4 separate regions of the Homo sapiens genome follow, and regions 1, 2 and 3 are each linked to region 4. The links are contacts of gene promoters, found by promoter capture Hi-C in blood cells and fetal thymus (Javierre and others, 2016). All regions are on one chromosome and are shown on one strand. Each heading gives the region's core, a stretch centred on a gene start or on the middle of the fragment in contact. The rest is flanking DNA. Distances are from core to core; before and after follow the strand shown.

What was found. The method cuts DNA at HindIII sites, captures the fragments that hold promoters and counts their contacts. A CHiCAGO score of 5 or more calls a contact.
Region 1: the fragment with the promoter of ASTN2-AS1 here is called in contact with the fragment with the promoter of TNC in region 4 in 4 of 17 cell types (M1 macrophages, activated CD4 T cells, naive CD8 T cells and 1 more); the score reaches 6.8 in M1 macrophages.
Region 2: the fragment with the promoter of ZNF618 here is called in contact with the fragment with the promoter of TNC in region 4 in 1 of 17 cell types (neutrophils); the score reaches 6.0 in neutrophils.
Region 3: a contact is called between the fragment with the promoter of AMBP here and the fragment with the promoter of TNC in region 4, in 7 of 17 cell types (total CD8 T cells, non-activated CD4 T cells, neutrophils and 4 more). The highest score is 9.5, in total CD8 T cells.

The regions. Positions count from the first base shown.
Region 1 is chr9:116,502,274-116,506,731 of GRCh38, reverse strand. ASTN2-AS1 (ASTN2 antisense RNA 1) reads right to left here and starts at 2,449. Exons shown (of 12, transcript NR_033973.1): 1 at 2,388-2,449. All of the region lies in intron 19 of ASTN2 (astrotactin 2), which reads left to right. RefSeq lists an enhancer at 1,080-1,249. The HindIII fragment of the contact is 9,663 bases long and covers 1-3,135 here.
Region 2 is chr9:113,874,252-113,879,296 of GRCh38, reverse strand. It overlaps ZNF618 (zinc finger protein 618), which reads right to left and starts at 2,988. Exons shown (of 15, transcript NM_001318042.2): 1 at 2,884-2,988. The coding sequence starts at 2,916. RefSeq lists an enhancer at 4,564-5,045. The HindIII fragment of the contact is 22,796 bases long and covers 1-5,045 here.
Region 3 is chr9:114,076,393-114,080,945 of GRCh38, reverse strand. AMBP (alpha-1-microglobulin/bikunin precursor) reads left to right here and starts at 2,646. Exons shown (of 10, transcript NM_001633.4): 1 at 2,646-2,853; 2 at 4,206-4,348. The coding sequence starts at 2,737. It overlaps LOC107987120 (a long non-coding RNA gene), which reads left to right. Exons shown (of 3, transcript XR_001746905.1): 1 at 1-111; 2 at 206-248; 3 at 344-1,006. The HindIII fragment of the contact is 5,279 bases long and covers 2,053-4,553 here.
Region 4 is chr9:115,114,539-115,119,546 of GRCh38, reverse strand. It overlaps TNC (tenascin C), which reads left to right and starts at 1,390. Exons shown (of 28, transcript NM_002160.4): 1 at 1,390-1,565. The region is part of intron 2 of LOC124902255 (a long non-coding RNA gene); the gene reads right to left. It overlaps LOC101928748 (a long non-coding RNA gene), which reads left to right. Exons shown (of 6, transcript NR_110950.1): 6 at 1-8. RefSeq lists enhancers at 292-1,111, 4,435-5,008. The HindIII fragment of the contact is 3,799 bases long and covers 1-2,907 here.

The sequences.
Region 1 (4,458 bases), core at 1,200-3,699, 1.4 Mb before region 4:
AAATTACTCTGAAAGGGTAATTGGACTTCTCCTGCCTGACTTTTTGGGGGGTTGGAGATGGCTACAGCAATCCCCTTCCTGCCCTCCTCCCACATTCTCTCTATTTATCAATCCCTTCCTCCTTTTGGCTGCTAGTGGCTGGTCTGCCTGCTCCCAGATGAGGGCCAGAGCTCTAGTTTGTTCATGGGACTCTAGCAAGGCCTATGTCTGGGTGGAGAACATGTGAAGTCACTCCTTCTTACTCCTCCATCTCTGGGGCTTCCCGCCTAAGAGGTAAAATCCCAAATAACACCCATTTCCCAGGGCATGCTTGGAGGTGAAGGGGAGCAATAATAGGAAATACAAGTTGGTGAAATACAAAGAGCTTTGGATTTGAGTCTGGCAGCTCAGTTTGCTAGTCCCACTCCTGTTATCCACCAGCTGAAGGACTTTAGAAAATTTTCTTCACCTCCTTGGGCCTCAGTTTATTCACATGTAAAGTGTGCATCAGAATGCCAGCCTTGCCAGCCTCTCAGAGTTTCATGAACAACTATGAGTTAAGTCATTCAGTAACCACTTATTGAACACCTACTACATACCGAACACTATTCCAGAAGCTGAGGAGAAGGCACTGAACAAGCTCCTATCATGGAGCTTATGTTCCCGGTACAGAGGGTTGGGAGGCAATGATGGTAAAGTAATAGATGTGCAATACAGAGTCAAAGTGTACTATGTGTTTGAAAGAAAAATAGGGTATGAGGATAGAGGTTGGGGGCATACCATTTAGTTACAGTGATCAGGACAAACCTCTTTGAGGGTGTGATGTTTGAGCAGAGACCGGAAAGTGGGAGGAAGTGAACCATGTGGCTAGCTGAATGTAGACTGCTCCAGACTGAGGATGTAGCAATAGCAAAGCCCCTGGAGCATCCTCAGGAGCACCAAGGAGGGCACAGTCATTGAAGTGTAGTCAGCAAAGGGAGAGGGAAGGCGCTCTAGCTGGAGCAGTAGTGAGGCTTTGGATTGCCTAGGAGTTGATGGATATGAAAATACCAGGTACACTGTAAAGTTCTAGTGCAACATGAGTGCCCCCGACCCATCGCCACTTCTTGTTTTGGAATACATTTTATACATTAAGGAGAAGCACTGGGTCAGATATTTTACACATTGAATCCTTGAAACATTCTATTAAAATGGTAATACTTCTTATTCCTGTCTTACACAAGAGGATGCTAAAGGTAGGAAGCCCAGTTTTATTGGAATCCAAAGGTGGTTCTTTGCATATTGTGGCAGACTTCTGGTTTTGGTTTGGTTTTGCCTTGCTTTTCTTAAAAAATAAATTCTAATGACTACTCAGATCCATTTGCATTGATTGGGTATCCAGTAAGGGAGAGGTGGAAACAGGGAGGCGAGCTGGGCACCAGGGAAAAGCTGAGCGGGAACCAACATTGTTTCCACAGAGCAGAGACTCCCTGGATTCATGATCTAGATGGTTCCATTCATCAGTAGCCTCAAAGCGATTAAAGGAATGAGTAGACTATCAGATACTAAAAGCACACGAGATGAGAAGTCAGAGATATTGATGCCCCATATGCAAAGTAGGGTTCTCTGATGTGCTAGCATAGTTAGTAATTATTGAGAATGTAAAGCATTTCAGTCACTTTTAGAGGATGTGAAAGTGTGTCTGACCTTTACTCTTCCCTCATAATAGTCAAATCTCAGTTGCGCAATTTAACCAAGTGACCTTAGGCAAGTTAGTGGATCTCTCTGAATCTTGATATACTCATTTGTAAATTTGGGGAAATAAGCTAACTTGTGTTTTTTGTTGTTGTTGTTTTGGGTTTTTTTTTTTTTTTTTTTGAGACAGGATTTCACTTGGTCATCCAGGCTAGAGGGCAGTGGTACTATCTTGGCTCACTGCAGCCTTGACTTCCCAGGCTCAAGTGATCCTCCCACCTCAGCTTCCTGAGTAGCTGGAGCTACAGATGCACGATACAACACCCAGTTAATTTTTGTACTTTTGTAGAGATGAGGTCTTACTATGTCGCCCAGGCTGGCATATTGTTATTAAGCTGAAATGAGATGCAGTACATGAAATACTAGGCATAGTATCTAACATTGTGAATGCTTAAGTTATATCAATTGTCACTGTTATTCTGAATAATATTATTATTACTTGAGAGTGTAAGATAGAAATACAAGCAGTAGTTAGCAATATGAAACACTCTCACAGGGTTACTGTAAGTATCAGAAAAGATTAAGAGCTTAATAAACACTAGTTATTATTATTATCTCAATGTCCTTTAAGTAAAATGGGTTTTCTTCTTAGACCTCAGAAAGTAGGTGCTGTCTCTCCCATCTTACCTTCCCTTCTTTCTTTCTTTCTCCCTTACCGTCCTCTTTGCCCTCACCTTGGTTGGGCCCCCATCCTGGCGATGTCAGATGCAGTCGCACAGGTTTTGCTGCTCACAATGCTACCACATTCCAAAGCTCACCATTCCAATTGTAGACATCATAAACATGTATTAATCATTGATCAAGTGTCTTGTTCTAACAAATCAGAATATTGGAACAAGGGAGGGAAGTATCTTAAGAAAGAGATGATTTTTATTTTTCTATTGTTTTTCCAATTTGCACAGAGGCACCCTATAGGCTAGCAGTAATAGTCTGAGCTTTAGTTTTCCTGTCTGTACAATGAAGCCCTGAAACAGATGATGCCTCAGGATCCCCATGGTTTTGGGTCCTTGCAGGTCCAGAAGTGGGCACTGCACTACCCAAGTTCATGAAGTCAGCTTTGGGACTATGGAGAGCAGAACTGTGATATGGACTGTGATGCCTTAGAGACCTGTGGGTTCTTGGTCTCTCTACCTTAACCACAGGTACCTGTAAACTGGGGATGATAATCCTAAACTGCCTACCTCACAGGATTATCGTGAGGATTAAATGAGGAAAGAGCGTGCTTTGTAAGCCCTAATGAGCTGCACAAATTGGAAAGATTACTTACACCACACGAACACACTCATATATATATTAAGTATGTATGTGTGTTTATATTTTACATTGCAGTATGTATGTGTGCATGTGTGTATATATAGTATATGTGTGTGTATATATTATGTAAAGCTGTGAACTCATAGGGTTAGGTATGAATTAGAAGCTTGTAAAACATGTTTACTCATTCAGTGTAACCCAAGGCAGTTATTAAACAGTAGGAAAAACTGACCAGCTAAATTTTCCAAGCCTAAAAACGCTTTTATAGTTTTCATTGTGGATTGAAGGGTGACCTTGTTTCCTTTTCTTTATTTCAAGGAAAATTTTAACATAAATGAGGAAGCAAGGGAGTCATTTTAATAGAGTGAAAACCTCTATATGTGGGTGGGAGGGATAGATGAGGGGAGCTGAATGGAAATGCCAGTCACCCTCTCACTCTCCCCCCCTCCTCCTCCCAGATCATCTGCCCCGAGTAGCGGTGAGACCAGAAGTAAAGCTTCCCTGGTCACTCAAGGGCATCCATCTCCAGAAGATGCCCTTCTAGCTGGTCCTGCCGTGCCCTTCCTTCCTTCCTTCCTCCCTCCTTCTTCCTTCTTCCTTCCTTTCTCCTTTCTTCTTTCCTTACTTCCTTCCCTTCTTTCCTTTCTCCTTCCTTTTTTCTTTTCTTCCATCTTCCTTCCCTTCCTCCCTCCTTCCTTCCTTCCTTTCTTCCTTCCCTTCTTCTTTCCTTCCTCCTTTTTTCTTTCCTTTCATCTTCCTTCCTTCCCTCTCTCCCTCCCTCTCTCCTTCCTTCCCTTCTTTTCTTCCTCCTTCCTTTTTTTCTTTCCTTCCATCTTTCTTCCCTCCCTCCCTCCTTTCCTCCTTCCTTCCCTTCTTCTTTCCTTCCTCTCTTTTTTCTTTCCTTTCATCTTCCTTCCTTCCCTCTCTCCCTCCCTCCTTCATTCTCTTCTTCTTTTCTACCTCCTTCCTTTTTTCTTTCCTTCCATCTTCCTTCCTTCCTTCTCTCCTTCCTTCCCTCATTCATTCATTCATTCCTTCCTTCCTTCCTTCCTTCCTTCCTTCCTTCCTTCCTTCCTTCCTTCTTTCCTTTCTTCCTTCTGTTTTTCTTGTTTGCCTTGGTCTTGGTCTTTCTGACCCCGATTTTCTCTGTTTCTCTCTCTCTCTCCTCACCAACTCCTGTCTATGTCTCTCTATTTCTATCTGTCTTTCTAGGTCTCTGACCTTCTATCCACTTCTCTCTGATTGTCTTTTTTCTGCATTTTTATTTCTGGTTCTCTGTCTTTGGCCCTATGTGTTCTTATCTATGTCTCTCTCTTTCTCTCTCCATTTCTCCTCTGTCTCTCACTGTGGCTCTCAGTTTCTGCTTCAGTCTTTCTGAGTATTTTCTGGCTGTAGTTCTCTCTTGGTCTCTTTCTCTATTTCTCTCTCTCTCTCCTCTCTCTGTGTGTGAGTGTGTGTCTTTGTGTCTGTGTGTTGTGTGTCTCCTCTCTG
Region 2 (5,045 bases), core at 1,739-4,238, 1.2 Mb after region 4:
GAATTGTGTGTCAGGAGATCCAGGCCACACAAAGGGACGTGCTGCAATATTTTTATTCCTTGCACCAGAAATAACCTGTTATCTACAACCCTGACTTTTTCTCAGATGCCCCTACCCCCCTCCACCCCTCCCCAGCCCATCTCTCCTTCATCACTGCTAAACTCAGGCCTTCTGCCTCATGAGGCCTCCAAAGCCCCTTGGAAATTATAAATTCCTTGACCGTCCTACTCATCGGCCTAAATAATTCAACAGAAAAAAATTTTTTTAATTATGCTACTTAAAAAAAAAAAAGCTCATTCCAAATATGTCAGAATGTGACCAGTCAGCCCTGAAGGATTTCGTTACTAAAAAAATAAAATCTCCCAAATGCAATGGCGATGATGGGAAATGTCAAACCTCTGCCATTGTCAAATATATTTCACAGAGATAATATATTTGACTTATTCCACTTAAACATCCAAATTTCCACAAAACAGGGTTGGGAATCTATGGACTGGGGCCACCAGTTTTCCCAAGACCAGCTAGTGGCTGGCAAAAGGAGCAAAGGGTTTCCTTTCTTGCCCCAGGTGACCCACCATCAATTTCCAATCCAAGGTCCCTCCAAGATCCCGCCCTGCAAGTCCTAACAATATGCTGTTTTTGGACAGAAAAATTGTAACTTTTGGGGGATAGGCTCAAAATCCCCAGCAAGTTCAATTAGATACTAATTTATCACAAAACGCTTCATCTTTGGGTGGGTACTTTATTCTCATCTGTCAAATTTCAATTCGGTCAATATTTATTTGCCTTCTTAAATTTTTTTTTCTTTTTTGTTTCACCTTCATGTGATTCATTTTAAGGCCAAAACCTCCACATGAAATATTGTTTGCATATATGCTTTCATATTCCAAAGGCAAACCTTGGGTTTGGCTTTTGTTTGTATTTTGATTATTTTTCCTTTATTTTGTTGCTGCTAAAACCAGCTGAGTTGGTGTTATATCACATTTCTTCAGCAAAGTAAGTGTTCTACCAAGGAAGATGGATAAGAATCAGAATTTTCATCTCCTTTTTGCCCATCCCTCTTTTATCTTTTTCTTGTTAAGTCAGTAAAATTTGTGCATTTTTTTTTTTTGGTCACAAACCCCCCAAAATGATCAAGGCTAATGGATTTTTCCCCCTTTGAAAGTAATCAGGTTTTTGAAAAATAACAAATATTGATAAACTACCAACCCCACATCACAATCAAAGAGGCCTGAAACCAATCTAAATTTTTTTTAAGTAATAAATTTTTCAAATTGGAAGGGTGAACAAGACAGAAAAGGGAAAATTTTCTTCCTTACCAAGGATTCCTCAATCCTTGTCTTCATCAATTGATTCAGTTGCATGTCATAAAAAATGAGCTTCTGTGAATCCACTGTTAGTTTTTTCATAATAATGTTAATTATGCATATCTTATTTTAATGGCGGTCTCTCCTACAAATCTGTGGGCTACTCAATTTGTATAATGTATGAATTTACATTTTTTCCACTTAATATTGCTCAAAAAAGGTTCCTGACATTTTCTGGATAAAACAACAACAAAAAAGAAATGCCTAGACCTTTCAGGAAACAAAATCAGAAAACAGTCTTAATTATTCCATCAAAACAAAAAAAACACACACACACACAAAACCCAACAAATACAGAAAAAAAGAAAGAAAGGATTTCACTGTAACTTTTCTAGTTTCTGTTTTCTTTAGAATCTTAGGATTTAAATGCAGTAAAATGTAAATGCAAAATTAAAAAAAAAAAACTACAATTTTTGGGTGTGTCCAAAGCCAACATTTTAGGTTCTATTTTCTCTTTTAAATCCTTCGTTCGTGGAAATAGAAAAACTTTAAATATTGCCATATAGAGAAATTAGTCTTTTTTTGCCCGCTGAGCTAAACAAGTTCCAAATTACAATGAAGTACAATTTCTAATTGCTTCATAAAGCCAATTCTCTCAGTTTTCCCTAAACTCAACAATTTCCCTCCTTTCTTTATTCCAATTAGTTTTTTTCTCAAACTAAAATGAGTTGGGTACCCAAACTGACTTTGCTTTTAGGAGGTTTTTTGCTTTCTCCCCTCCAAGAACTAAATTCATTCAAATTCCAGCTTAATTTTCATTTACATATTATCTGGATTTGGCTTCAGAAATAAAAATTGTCTCCATGCTTCTGGAAAGATCAAAGTGAAAATTTTCACCCGAAAAAAGAAAAAAAAAGAATCTCTTACCCCTCCACTGCCTGGTAGTGCAAACTTTTGAAAAAATAAGAAATAAAAAATATTTCTTTTCAATTTTAATTTCTTTTTTATTTACAAAATAGTATCCTCTAGGTGGCGTCGTTTTAATGGGAAAAAACTACCGTTTGAAGAAAAATTAGAAAAAAAAAATTGAGAAAGGAAAATATGGCCTAAAAAAAAAGATTGTTGCAAAAATGGGGGACCTGGGGGGAAAGACCTCCCGGGGGGTCATCGGGGACCCCGAGCGCAGAGAGGGTCAGGGGAAAATTGCAAATTTGGGGGGGAGGGGGCAGAGCTGGAAGGGGTTGCATTTTTGCAAAATGTGAATTGTCCAAACTGAAATGGCTGCTCTGTTCTCTCGCCGCTTTGTTTTCTGGGCTCCGGTCCGAGCCCGGGGCCGGAGGGGGCGCTGGGTGGGGGCCCCAAAAGACCCCCTCGTCACCCCCACCCTCCTCGCACCCCGCAGCGCCCGGGGGGGTGCTCTCCGGACCCCGACCCTCCCGATTGCGCCCACAAAAAGCCCGCAAACGTGCCCAGGCACTTTGCATTTTGCAAATCTTGCAATGAAGTGGCGCAGCGCCCCGGGCCCCGGCCCCCCGGGGTCCCCCGCGCGGTGCATGCCCCCGGCCCCCCGTCGTACCTGCGGAGCCGCCGCGCCGCCCGGCTGGTTCATGGGTCCGTGCGGGAGGAGGCGGCCCCGGCGCGTCCTGCTCCTCCCGGGCCGGGCTGCTGGTGCGCGCACAATGCCGCCGCCGCCGCCGCCGCCGCCGCCGCCGCTCCCTCCTCCGCCCGCCCCGCTCAGGCCGGGGGGGCGGGGGCGCTGGGGGCGCGCGGGGGGGGCGCCGGCCCTCGCCCCCACCCCCGGCCCGCACCGGCCGCGCCGCGGCAGCCGCTGCCGCCGAGCCGCCCCTCGCGGGGCCGCCGCCGCCCCCCGCCGCCCTGCCCGCCCCCGGGCCGGCCTCGCCGTGCGGCCCGCGAGCTCGGGGCCTCGGCCTCGGCCTCCGCGCTGCCGGCCTCCGCGTGGCACACAAAGCCGGCCGGTCCAGGGGCGCGCCCGCCCTCCCGTCCGCCAGCCCCAGTGCCGCGGCACACCCGCCCCCCCAAACTTTCCCGCGCCGCGCCCTGCCCTCCCCGCGCCCCCCGCGCCCGCTCCCCGGCTCCCTTCTGCCCTCCCCCAGTCCCCCAGCCCCTCGGAAATGTCATTTTCACGCTGGAAAAAAAGTTCAGGGAGCCGGCTCTCGGCGGAACGCAAGAGGTTAATGGGAACTCTGTACCCCGCTGTACCCCCCCGCCAAAAAAAAACCAGATTGATTTTTGAAATAAAAGTTTTCAAGAGCTGGCTTGCTGGAAGACTGGAAGGCTTATTGGGAATATTCTATTGCCCTGCCACTCCTCCCAAAAAAACTAATGTAATAAAATAAAAGTTTGAAGGACTGGCCCCATGTCCGACAAGAGTGGTTAAGGGGACTCTAGCCCCCCAGCCAGACTGATTTTTAAAATAAATACTTGAGGAGCCGCTTTTATGTGAAATGCCAGTGAAGCGGCTGTTTCTGCCTATCCTTGCCAAATTAAAATATATATATGTATTTCTAAATAAAAGTTTGAAAAACTGGTCCTACAGTAAGACAAGAGGGGTTAAAGGTTAAGGGATATTAGCGCCCCCCACCCCCATATCCCCCAGTTAGGTTGATTTAGAGAAGGAAAATTTGAGAAACTTGCATGTGAAATAAAACGTGAACCAGGATATTTCTTTCCAACACCCCAAAATAGCCAGTTTTTTTGTTGTTGTTATTGTTGTTTTTTTTTTTTTAACTTGAGCAACTGCCTCCTTGTGACTTGGGAAAGTTTAAAAGGGATTTTTTTTTCTATTCTCTTCCCTATTCTCCTAAAAAATCCGATTTTTTAAAAATTGAAAGTATGAAGGACCTGCCCTATTATAGAGACAAGGAGGGATTACTGGATCCATCCTACATCTCCCACAACTGGTTGATTTTTGGAATAAAAATGTTAAGAATTGCTCTTCTATGAGATGCAAGGTGAACAGAAATCCTTCTTTGCCCCTCCCCAAAAGAAAACTGCAAGGGTACTTTTCAAAAATAAAAGCATTGGAAATTAAGAGTAACCAGGTATCTTCTCTCTGCCCCCACCTTCAAAAATCAAATGTTCTTTTTTGTAATGTTTAAAGAACTGGAGCAATATGAGACAGGAAAGGTTACAGAAATGTTTTCCCTACAATCCTCAAAAAAGTTATTTTTAAAATTTTAGGAAACGGAGGCACTGTGTAGAAGACACCTCCTTTCCCTAATAAGTTAAATTGGGAGTTTAGCCCTATATGGGAGACATGAAATTAAGAAACACAACTCTTGCCCCCCTTAACAAACACTCATAACACAAGACGTTAAAAGGAGTCTTCTGGCCGGGAGTGGTGGCTCACGCAAATAATCCTTTTGGGAGGCCAAGGCGGGTAGATCACGAGGTCAGGAATTGGAGACCAGCCTGGCCAACATAGTGAACCCCTTCTCCACTAAATATACAAAAATTAGCCAGGTGTGGTGGCACACACCAGCCAGTAGTCCCAGGTACTCAGGAGGCTGAGGCAGGAGAATTGCTTGAACCCGGGAGGCGGAGGTTGCAGTGAGCCGAGACCACGCCATTGCACTCCAGCCTGGGTGACAGAGTGGGACTCCGTCTCAAAAAAAAAAAAAAAAGAGGAGTCTTCTAACCACTTCCTCCCAGACCCCTAAAAGTTGGAGATTCCTTAAAAATTGAAATTGAAAGTGGCCATTTTTCTCCCCACCAACC
Region 3 (4,553 bases), core at 1,397-3,896, 1.0 Mb after region 4:
CAGCCCTGTCCAAGAGAGGCTAGGACTGGGGCTTCTCCACCCCTGCGCGTCTCAGGCTTCCCATCTGGACCATGGGGTTGATAACTGTAGTCACGCAGGCCCAACATGAAGGTCAGCGAGCCATCTTGGTGCACTGTAAGCGGGCTTAGTAGGATGATTTTATTCCTATTAATGATTCATTGTTATTTATTTATTCTTATACCAGGCCTGCCTCCTCCAATGGCAGACACCCCTGAGCCACCACACAGGTAAGGCAGTGGACAGTTTACAGTTCACTTCCTCACACATTGTCTCTCTTGGCCTCTTGACAGACAGAACAAGAACTGTTTTCTTCCGTTCACAGATACGGAAAGTGGTCTTTAGCGAGGGAAAGCCACCTCCAATATCATGCAGAACAAGGAGAAGTTGGGGGCTACCACCTCCTCATTACCATCATTAACTAAAACATCAAAGATTGAGAAACTTTGTGAACACAAGGAACACGAAGATAACTGTCCCAGAAAGCTAAACCAAGACAGTAACTGTGCTTAAACTTACATCATGGCTTTGAGCTTCCTAGCAGCCAAAGCAAGAAGGGAATATAATCACTGGCCAAGGTTAGGGTGACGGAGCAAAGGAAACACATTTATGAATAGAAGCACACTTGTTCTGGATACCAGTGAAAGAGGGATGTACTGACTGAATCTTACAGAAGGGACATGATACACCATTTGTTTCTGCACTGACTACATGGGGGAATCCTTTGATTCTCACATAAGCAGGGGTCTTAATCTTGGGACTGCCTGCCCGAAGGGGTCATTCCCAGCTCTAACAGAGAGGTGGCTGAGAGTATGGAATGTTCCATGCCAAGAGCAGGGAGGAAGTAAGGACAGTAGATTTAACCACTGGAGAAGGGAAATTCATAGAGAGGCCTTTGGTATTGCTGGCAAGAGTGTGAGCTCACAGACAACGGACCTGGGTTTTAAAAAATTCTCATTTAAAATCTTAAATTTAGGCTGAGCGCAGTGGCTTACGCCTGTAATCCCAGCACTTTGGGAGGCTGAGGTGAGAGGATCACCTGAGGTCAGGAGTTAGAGACCAGTCTGGCCAATATGGTGAAACGCTGTCTCTACTAAAAATACAAAAATTAGCCAGGCATGGTGGTGGGCACCTGTAATCTCAGCTACTCGGGAGGCTGAGGCACAAGAATCACTTCAGCCCAGAATGTGGAGGTTGCAGTGAGCCGAGATCGCACCACTGCACTCCAGCCTGGGCGACAAGAGTGAAACTCCGTCTCAAAATAATAAATAAATAAATAAAACCTTAAGTTTAATAACTACTGTATTAGTTTCCTAGGGCTGCTAGGAAATGTGTCTTCTCTCAGCACTGGAGGTCAGACACCTGAGACCAAATTTTCAGCAGAGCCATGTTCCCTTTGAAGATTCTGGGGAAAAGTCCTTCCTTGCCTTTTGCTAGCTTTTGGTGGCTGCCATCAATCCTTGGTGATTTTTGACGTGTCACTGCATCCCTCCCATCTCTGCCTTCGGCGTCACGCCACATCTTCCCCGTGCTTCTCTCTGTGTCCCTGTGTCTGAGTCTCCCTCACCATTCTCTTATAAAGATACCGGTCATTGGATTTAAAACCCCTGTCATCCAGTTCAACCTCATCTAACTAATCACATCTGCAAATCAGGTTCATTCTGCGGTTCGGGGTGCACATGGATTCTGGAGGGGGCACTGTTCAACCCACCACAAACACTCAGCTCTTACTCTATGCTGGGTACTGTCCTAGCGCATTGCAGGTGCTCACTCAACAATGCTAGGAGCTAGGAACTATTATTATCCCCATTTACAGATGAGGAAACCAAGGCACTGAAAGGTAAAGTGACTTGCCCAAGGTCACACAGCAGTGAGTGCCACTGTAGGCTGCCTGGCTCCCACGTCCATGGTCTCTACCACGCCTTTCCCAGCTACTCCACTCCCGGCTGAGGGATTCTGGGCAAGTCACTTCACTTCTTGGAGACTCAACTCCTCTGCCTGTAAAGGGGACAAATAGCACCTACTTCGTAAGCTTGTTGTGGGGATTTACTGGACACCTGTGGCACGTGTAAAGTGCCTGGTACACAGCCAGCACATAGCAGGTGCTCAGTGAACGGAAGCTCGTAACAGTCATCATTGTTAATGTCTCTATTATTTGCAAAGGCTAGGGCAAGCCTGGGGGCTGGAGAAGGAACTCTGGAGACAGGATACCTGGGTTCTGGTCTTGGCTCTGCCCATAGACTTCCCTGAGGTCTCTGGCAAGTCACTTCCTCTCCTTGGGCCTCAGTTTTTTCCTGTGAGAAATGGGCCCAATCAGGCTTGACCTGCTGGCTCACAGAGCTGTGAGGTCCAGATGGCATGACTCAGCAGAAAGGCCAGGTCGCTCCCCATCCTCGCATGCCCTCTGTGGGGGACTTTTGGGGGGCGGAGCCCAATCCTGGTGCTCCAGGGCCCTATTGTGCTTGGCCAATGCCTCTTCTGAAGCAGCCATCCCGGCCTCTTGGTACTGCTGACCCCAGCCAGGCTACAGGGATCGATTGGAGCTGTCCTTGGGGCTGTAATTGGCCCCAGCTGAGCAGGGCAAACACTGAGGTCAACTACAAGCCACAGGCCCCTTCCCCAGCCTCAGTTCACAGCTGCCCTGTTGCAGGGAGGCGGTGGCCCTTCTGTTGCTAGACCGAGCCTGTGGGATATACCAAGGCAGAGGAGCCCATAGCCATGAGGAGCCTCGGGGCCCTGCTCTTGCTGCTGAGCGCCTGCCTGGCGGTGAGCGCTGGCCCTGTGCCAACGCCGCCCGACAACATCCAAGTGCAGGAAAACTTCAATATCTCTCGGGTAAGGCTGCCGCTCTCTGTGGTAGGGTGGATGTGGTGATGGGGAGTCCAGGCAGATGGGCCCTGCTGGGCAAGTGCGGCCTGTCTCGGGGTCTCAGGCTTCCACTCAGATCATCTGGGATTATGGGATCCTTTGAAGGTACAGCTCTATCCCCTGCCATTCCGTGGGTCTCTTGGCTGACATTCTATGAGTCAAACATCCTCACCTTCTGCACTGTCCTCGTGGGCTCCAAGGGGAACCCTTGTGTTAATGGGAACCTGCTCCAGAGAAGGCTTTGTCCTGCCTGCCACTGCCCTGCAGCCCCCGTGCAGACACCTAGCTTTGCCCAGACCTCCCAGCCCTTCCTTCTCTAATGACTCCCCTCTCTCTGTGGCATCTTTCCCTTAGCTCTTCCTGTGTCCCCTGCCCACATCCTGGCCTGACTGTGGACAGACACCTGGGGTGGCACAGCGTGGGCATGTGGCCAGCAGCTTTTGGGTTGGGCATGTGGGGCTTATGGGAAGAGGTGAAGCAGGACAGAGATTAGGGTTGGGAGACATTCAGAGGCTTGGGCACAAGGAGAGACCTGGACTGGGGCAGGACACTCTCCTGTGAGTGTGGAGTGCCAGAGCTGCCTTCCAGCCCCCACTCTGCCCTAAATCCCGGGGTGGCTTTGAGAATACCCTTGCCCACCTGGGGCTGTCTCCATGTCTGTATGAAGGGTCTCAGAACCTTCTAGCTGTGGTGTCATGTGGGTTTTGTTTACTTTTAGGGACAAGGAAAGGTCGTGGCAGAGGGGCAATGAGGAGCAGGTCCCTGTGGCAGTCTGGGACGCAAAGGGTGTGGGGCACATTGGCCTGTTCCGTAGGAGCCTGAGGGCTCCTTCAGCTGTCCCGTGCACTTTCAGGAGGAAGAGGAAGCAGGCCTATCCTGAATGACCCCATCATGTTCATTATACTTTTGAAATAATTCCTAACATGGGGCTGTGGGCTGCCTTGCAAGGTGGGGAGCACCCCATCATTGGAGGAGTAAAAGACAGGACTCCAGCTCTTGGGGAGCAGTGGTTGATGGAGCTATGGACAGATCCCACATCTTGAGAGAGTTAGCCCTTCTGCAGGGCAGGTTGGGACCCCAGCCGCACACCTGCTTCCTGGGTTCGCTGTGATGCCTGAAACGCCACTCTTAGGGATCTGGCCTCCCTTGAAGGTGTGTGGCCTCTGATTAGTTGTAAGACATTATCCCTTAAAAGGATAAGTCATTTTGAGGAGAAGGAGGAGGAAGAGGAGGAGGTGGAGGGTGGGGAGCAGATGTCAGCCAGGTCTGCTTTGAGGTCTGAGACTGATGCAGACCCCCAGAGCTCACCTGCCTCCTAGATCTATGGGAAGTGGTACAACCTGGCCATCGGTTCCACCTGCCCCTGGCTGAAGAAGATCATGGACAGGATGACAGTGAGCACGCTGGTGCTGGGAGAGGGCGCTACAGAGGCGGAGATCAGCATGACCAGCACTCGTTGGCGGTGAGCACTAGGGTGGGGCTGGAAAGCTGAGAGAGACCCAGAGACCCACAACCTTCCCAGCCCCGTCCATCCTGGGAAGTTGCAGATCTCTGCTTCCAGTCAGGACCTTCCCGCTGAACCCCAGATCCCTCTACGCTCCTCCACCAGGACGGCCCTTTTCAGGTGTCCTATCTATTCCTCGAGGGCAGTGTCCCAGCACTGTGCC
Region 4 (5,008 bases), core at 141-2,640:
TATTCAAATATGGCTGTGATTTCTACACAAATGGTGTTAACAATCTAATACAGCATAAAACATTGTTTAAATATCATCATACCCTATTCCTAAACAGTAACGTGTAATAGATCTCTGGAGCCCAGTGTTGTAATATAAACACTTCCCAGGTGTATTCCCTTGGTAAAGTTTCATTACTTCTCTAAACGTCAGTTTTCTTGTGTAAAAAAGAGACACTTGTGTCTATCCTACTTACTGGTTACAAGGATATAATAAAAATAGTGAACAAAAATAGTGTTCATAAAGTACCCTGCACAGCACCTGATTATAGACTTAATAAGGGAGGGCTCAATGGTAGTTGCGTTTTGAATTACATTTAATGCTTCATTTTACTTCACTGTCACAAACTACTATGCTCTGCGGCAGGCTCAGAAGTCTCTAGGCACGGGTGAAGTGCTACTTCTCCACTCCCTTAAATGCCCCTGTATGCCCTGAGGATACTCAATGCATGCTAACCACCAAACGAACGGATGACTCAGAGCTTGGAGGAAATCCACGGCAGGCTGGAAAGCAAAGGCGCAGCTTATGGCTCAAGGATTAGGTTGTTACCTTTTTAAATTATTGCTTTTCTTTAAAGAAAGGGCTGTGGGGGACGCCTTTCAGCACTAAGAGAAAACCTCAGAAATCCTTCCCCCTGGAGACCCAGCTGAGAAGACCACACCAGGCACAGGGCATGAACAATGTCAAAAAGCTACTGCCCTGCAGGACACTGGGGCTGGAACAAAGATGCCTCCCAGCAGCTGGGCAAGGCTGGCTCCCACACAAGAAAAGCAGGGCTGATGTGAGCGTCCCGCACGATCCCCACCTGCTGAGACCTAATCCTGGGTTATCTCTCCGCTGGCCCAGAGAAACCTGAAACCCCCCAGGCTTTTGAAGGGCTTTATCTCCTCTTTCCAGGAACTGGGCTCAGTCCCTGTACTCGCTCCGAGGTGCCACTGAGCAGCTGCTGCCCAGAGCCCAGGCGAGCCCTGGTCCCATTTCCAGCTTGACCAAGTACAAGAGGGGAGCCAGGGCTGCGGATCCTACTCCCTCTTGCTCCCCAGGCATCCGTCTCACAATTAGAAAACCCGTGTGGGGAGCAAAGCAAAAATCACATTTCACTAACAGCTACTCGGGGTCGGGGGCGGGCAGGCGGGAATTCCTACTTTCGCCATAAATTGTATGCAAATGGGTTCCTTCCCTGGCCGAGAGCCAGGAGTGAGTGCGTCTTTCATGAGCTAACCCTGTTCCGCTGGGAGGGCTGTTCCTTTAATTCGCCAACTGAAAAAGTGGGAAAGGATGTCTGGAGGCGAGGCGTCCCATTACAGAGGAAGGAGCTCGCTATATAAGCCAGCCAAAGTTGGCTGCACCGGCCACAGCCTGCCTACTGTCACCCGCCTCTCCCGCGCGCAGATACACGCCCCCGCCTCCGTGGGCACAAAGGCAGCGCTGCTGGGGAACTCGGGGGAACGCGCACGTGGGAACCGCCGCAGCTCCACACTCCAGGTACTTCTTCCAAGGACCTAGGTCTCTCGCCCATCGGAAAGGTAAGTCTGTTTTGCCCTCATCACTAGAGATCCTTATGATGTAAGGATTGCATTCCTGGTACCAAATGAGTTGTGATTTTATATTATAATTACAAAACATATGGGGTTTTTTTTTCCACCGCTGGAAAAAAAAGGAGTGTGTATTGGTTATATCAGATGCACCTTGACTTTTCTGGTCTTGTAATTTTGTTTGTTTTAACTTTATGAATAGTCAGACTTGGAAGGAACTTTTCGTAAAGTTGTTATCTTCTGCTGTTCTGCAGAGGAAAAGTAAAAATTTTCTCTTCAACTGCTCTCCTACTTCTAGTCTGGCTGATTCACCTGTATATATCTTTTATTTTGAGGGTTAGGGCAGTAGAGTTTTAAGGCAGACTTTGCTCATAGCCTGCCCCTGGGATGGGTTAGAGGGAGTTTGATAGAGGAGTGCAGGGAGAATATAAAAGTTTATATCTAAACAGCACTTACATAAAGTTTACAAAGAGTTTTGTACCCATTCCCTCATTTGGTCCTCAAAATATTCACCCTGGAAATGAGAGCTGGGGGACAGAAGAGAGGAGGTGGCTCCTGGGCCAGATGAATAACTGACAGGCAGCTAGAGAGTGGTGGAGAACAGCTTTACTGGGGTGCCTAGAGCCAGCAGCGTCCCACATGTCTCTAGAATCACCTCCTCCTCCTCACCTCTCATCACAGAAAGATCTGAGCAACAACATCCCCCAGGTATGGGAACCCTGCTGCCCCTGGTGTACTTTGGAAAGAACACAGGGGTTCTTCTCACCCATCAGTGTTGTAAGAGGAATAAGAGCTTAGGTTTGAAGCCAGAGGTGTTTGGTATTCTCCCCACCACCATACATATGACCCTGAGAAAGATACATCACTTCCTTAATCCTCAGTTTTCACATCTCTAAAATGGGGACAATAGCGTCTGCTGTCGTTTTGAGGAGAAAATGAGGTATAGAAAGATCAGCAATGACTGCTTAATAACTGGAAGTTTGGATAATCATTGTCATTGCCAAAAACTGCCATCACTCTGGAAGTTAAAAGAGGCATTGAGCCAGTCTTGGATTGTTTCTTGTGTGTTGTTCCTCAGCCCGCCCCCAGCCCCCGCTTTTTATCTCACCCAATCTGAGGGTGTCTCACTAGGCTGGCAGGTCTGAGACTTGGCTGTATTTTACAAGCAGGAGGTTGTGTTGGCACAGGTTGGAGAAAAGGTAGTAGCCCGGGGCTGGAAGTTAATGTCAAATTTTGATTCCAGAATGTCAGGAGGTTTTGAGTTTAGGCATCTGCAGATTCTAAAGCTGACAGCTATGAAGTACGATGCTGTTGGAAACTCTTTGGAAAAGCTTTCTGTCCGGAGGGAGGGCAGGACAGGGAGCACCACTTGAAGAATGAATGCCTCTTTTTCATGTTTTTGTAGACTTTTTCCCCCATTTTTACAGAGCTTTCCCATATGTGTTTTAGAAAGGAAAACTACTATCCATCCCAGCCAGGCAAGCCCAATTCAGGACTGAAGAAGATTTATTCAGTCCTAGACAACCAAGTGAAGAGTTTCTGGCTTTGTGCGCATACAAGTCATTTGCAGGAGATGTAAGTCAGCGTGCTTTGGCCCTTGCATTTCAGGAAGGTGACTGCTTTGTGGGGAAGAAAAAGGTGCACAATATGAGTATTCTCTGGTTTGCTCAAACAGGGTAAATTGGACAAGGATTGAAAGGGATGTTGCCAAGCTCTACAGTCATTAAATATTTTTTTCCTCTATGCTTTGTTTTAAAAACCTAGCTTCTCTATTTTATCCCACACTAACCTCCTCCTTCCCCACTCTAAGAAGTGACTAACGTTTCAGCCCTCAACTTTGTCATTCATATAATGGAGATGACAAACTATGTCTCACAGGGCTCTTGCAACATTCAAATGAGGTAATATATGGCAAACACTTGGCATAGTACCTTCCACATATTAAGGGTTCAATAAATGGAAACTTTTCTTAGTTTCTCTGTTTATCATTTTACAAGGACTTGTCCAAGATTAATATTCTAAGATCATGATTTTTAAACTTATTTTTAATGATGAAAATATTCATTACATGAATTTAGGGCAAACCCCCAGTATATGACAGGTAAATGCAGGGCTGCTTTGGTTGAAGTGGGGTCACAAGGTCTAAAACTTACACCTTTGCTCTTAGCCTCTGGGACATTGCCACAGAATCTTCAATGACAAAAAGCACATTTACAAATCATGAAACCAGGCTGTGTGCATTCTGGTTGCCATTCTGCCCTTCAACAAGGATTTTTGCCCCTCTGAGTCACCATCTGTAGCAGAAGTAAGAGCAAGTCCACAAATAGTGTAATAGACAGGAATATGAATGAGAAATAAAAGACTTAACAAAGGCTATTTTAATTAATTCTAATGACAATGATAGCCAAAATATATGATGAGCCTACTCTCTAAACTGTAGGCTTTTGTGGGATCATCCACAGCATGTCTCTGAGGTATGGACTATATTTGTTGGACAAAGAGATGGCTTCAAGAACAGGGAGACTGAATAACTTTACCAAGGTCCTAGAACTCAGAGTGATACAGCCAGGTTTCACACCCAGGTCCCCGTGATCACCAAGTCAGAGGTACATTCTGCCGTGTTCCTTCTGAATGCTTCTCTGCTTCTTGCCTGCCTTTAGAAGGAAAACACTTCCTTTCTGACTAAATATGCCCCTCCAGGCAGACTGTGGCCACCCATAAATACAGCAGTAGCCTGATCATATAACCAGAATGGAATTTGGAAAGAGAATTCAAGCTGACAGAATGAAAAACATATCCCCCTTAATCCTACCCTTTCTAATGCTAACAATAAATTAAGAGCACATATTCTCTCCTCTCTCTCTAGATTTCTATAGACACCTAGCTGTGCTTTCTTACAAGAAAACATATCCACTGGACCAAAGCGCAGCCCCCTTCATGCTGAAGCCACTTCAGTTTGAAACGTAAAAAGTAGGTTGCAAACATTTAGTTGGCTCGAAATATATGTCCTTTTGTGATGGTAAAACACACAAACACAAAGTTAATAGTGTCACATATGTAATAGGAGGGTTTGCCAATGGTTTCTCATCTCATTCTCACTCAGACACTACAAATTATAAATTACTAGCTCAATTTTAAAGAAATCGACACTCAAGGAAGTTAGGTGACTCATCTGAGGTCTTTCCGTAATTGAGGGGCAGAGCTGGCTTTGACCCAAGCTTTCTAACTAATACCCCACTGTTCTTTCTGCTGTGCTATATTGCCTTCTGAAGTCAGGCTGTGCTGACCAAGTTTAGAACCTTAAATGGTGTCTTTCAGTGAATGATCAAGATGGTGGAGAAGCCCCCAGCTGGCATTGGTGCCTATTGATTTTACAGAATAGCCCTGCATGTATCATTTTTCATGGTTCTCAGCAAAGGTCAGCTCTCAATGGT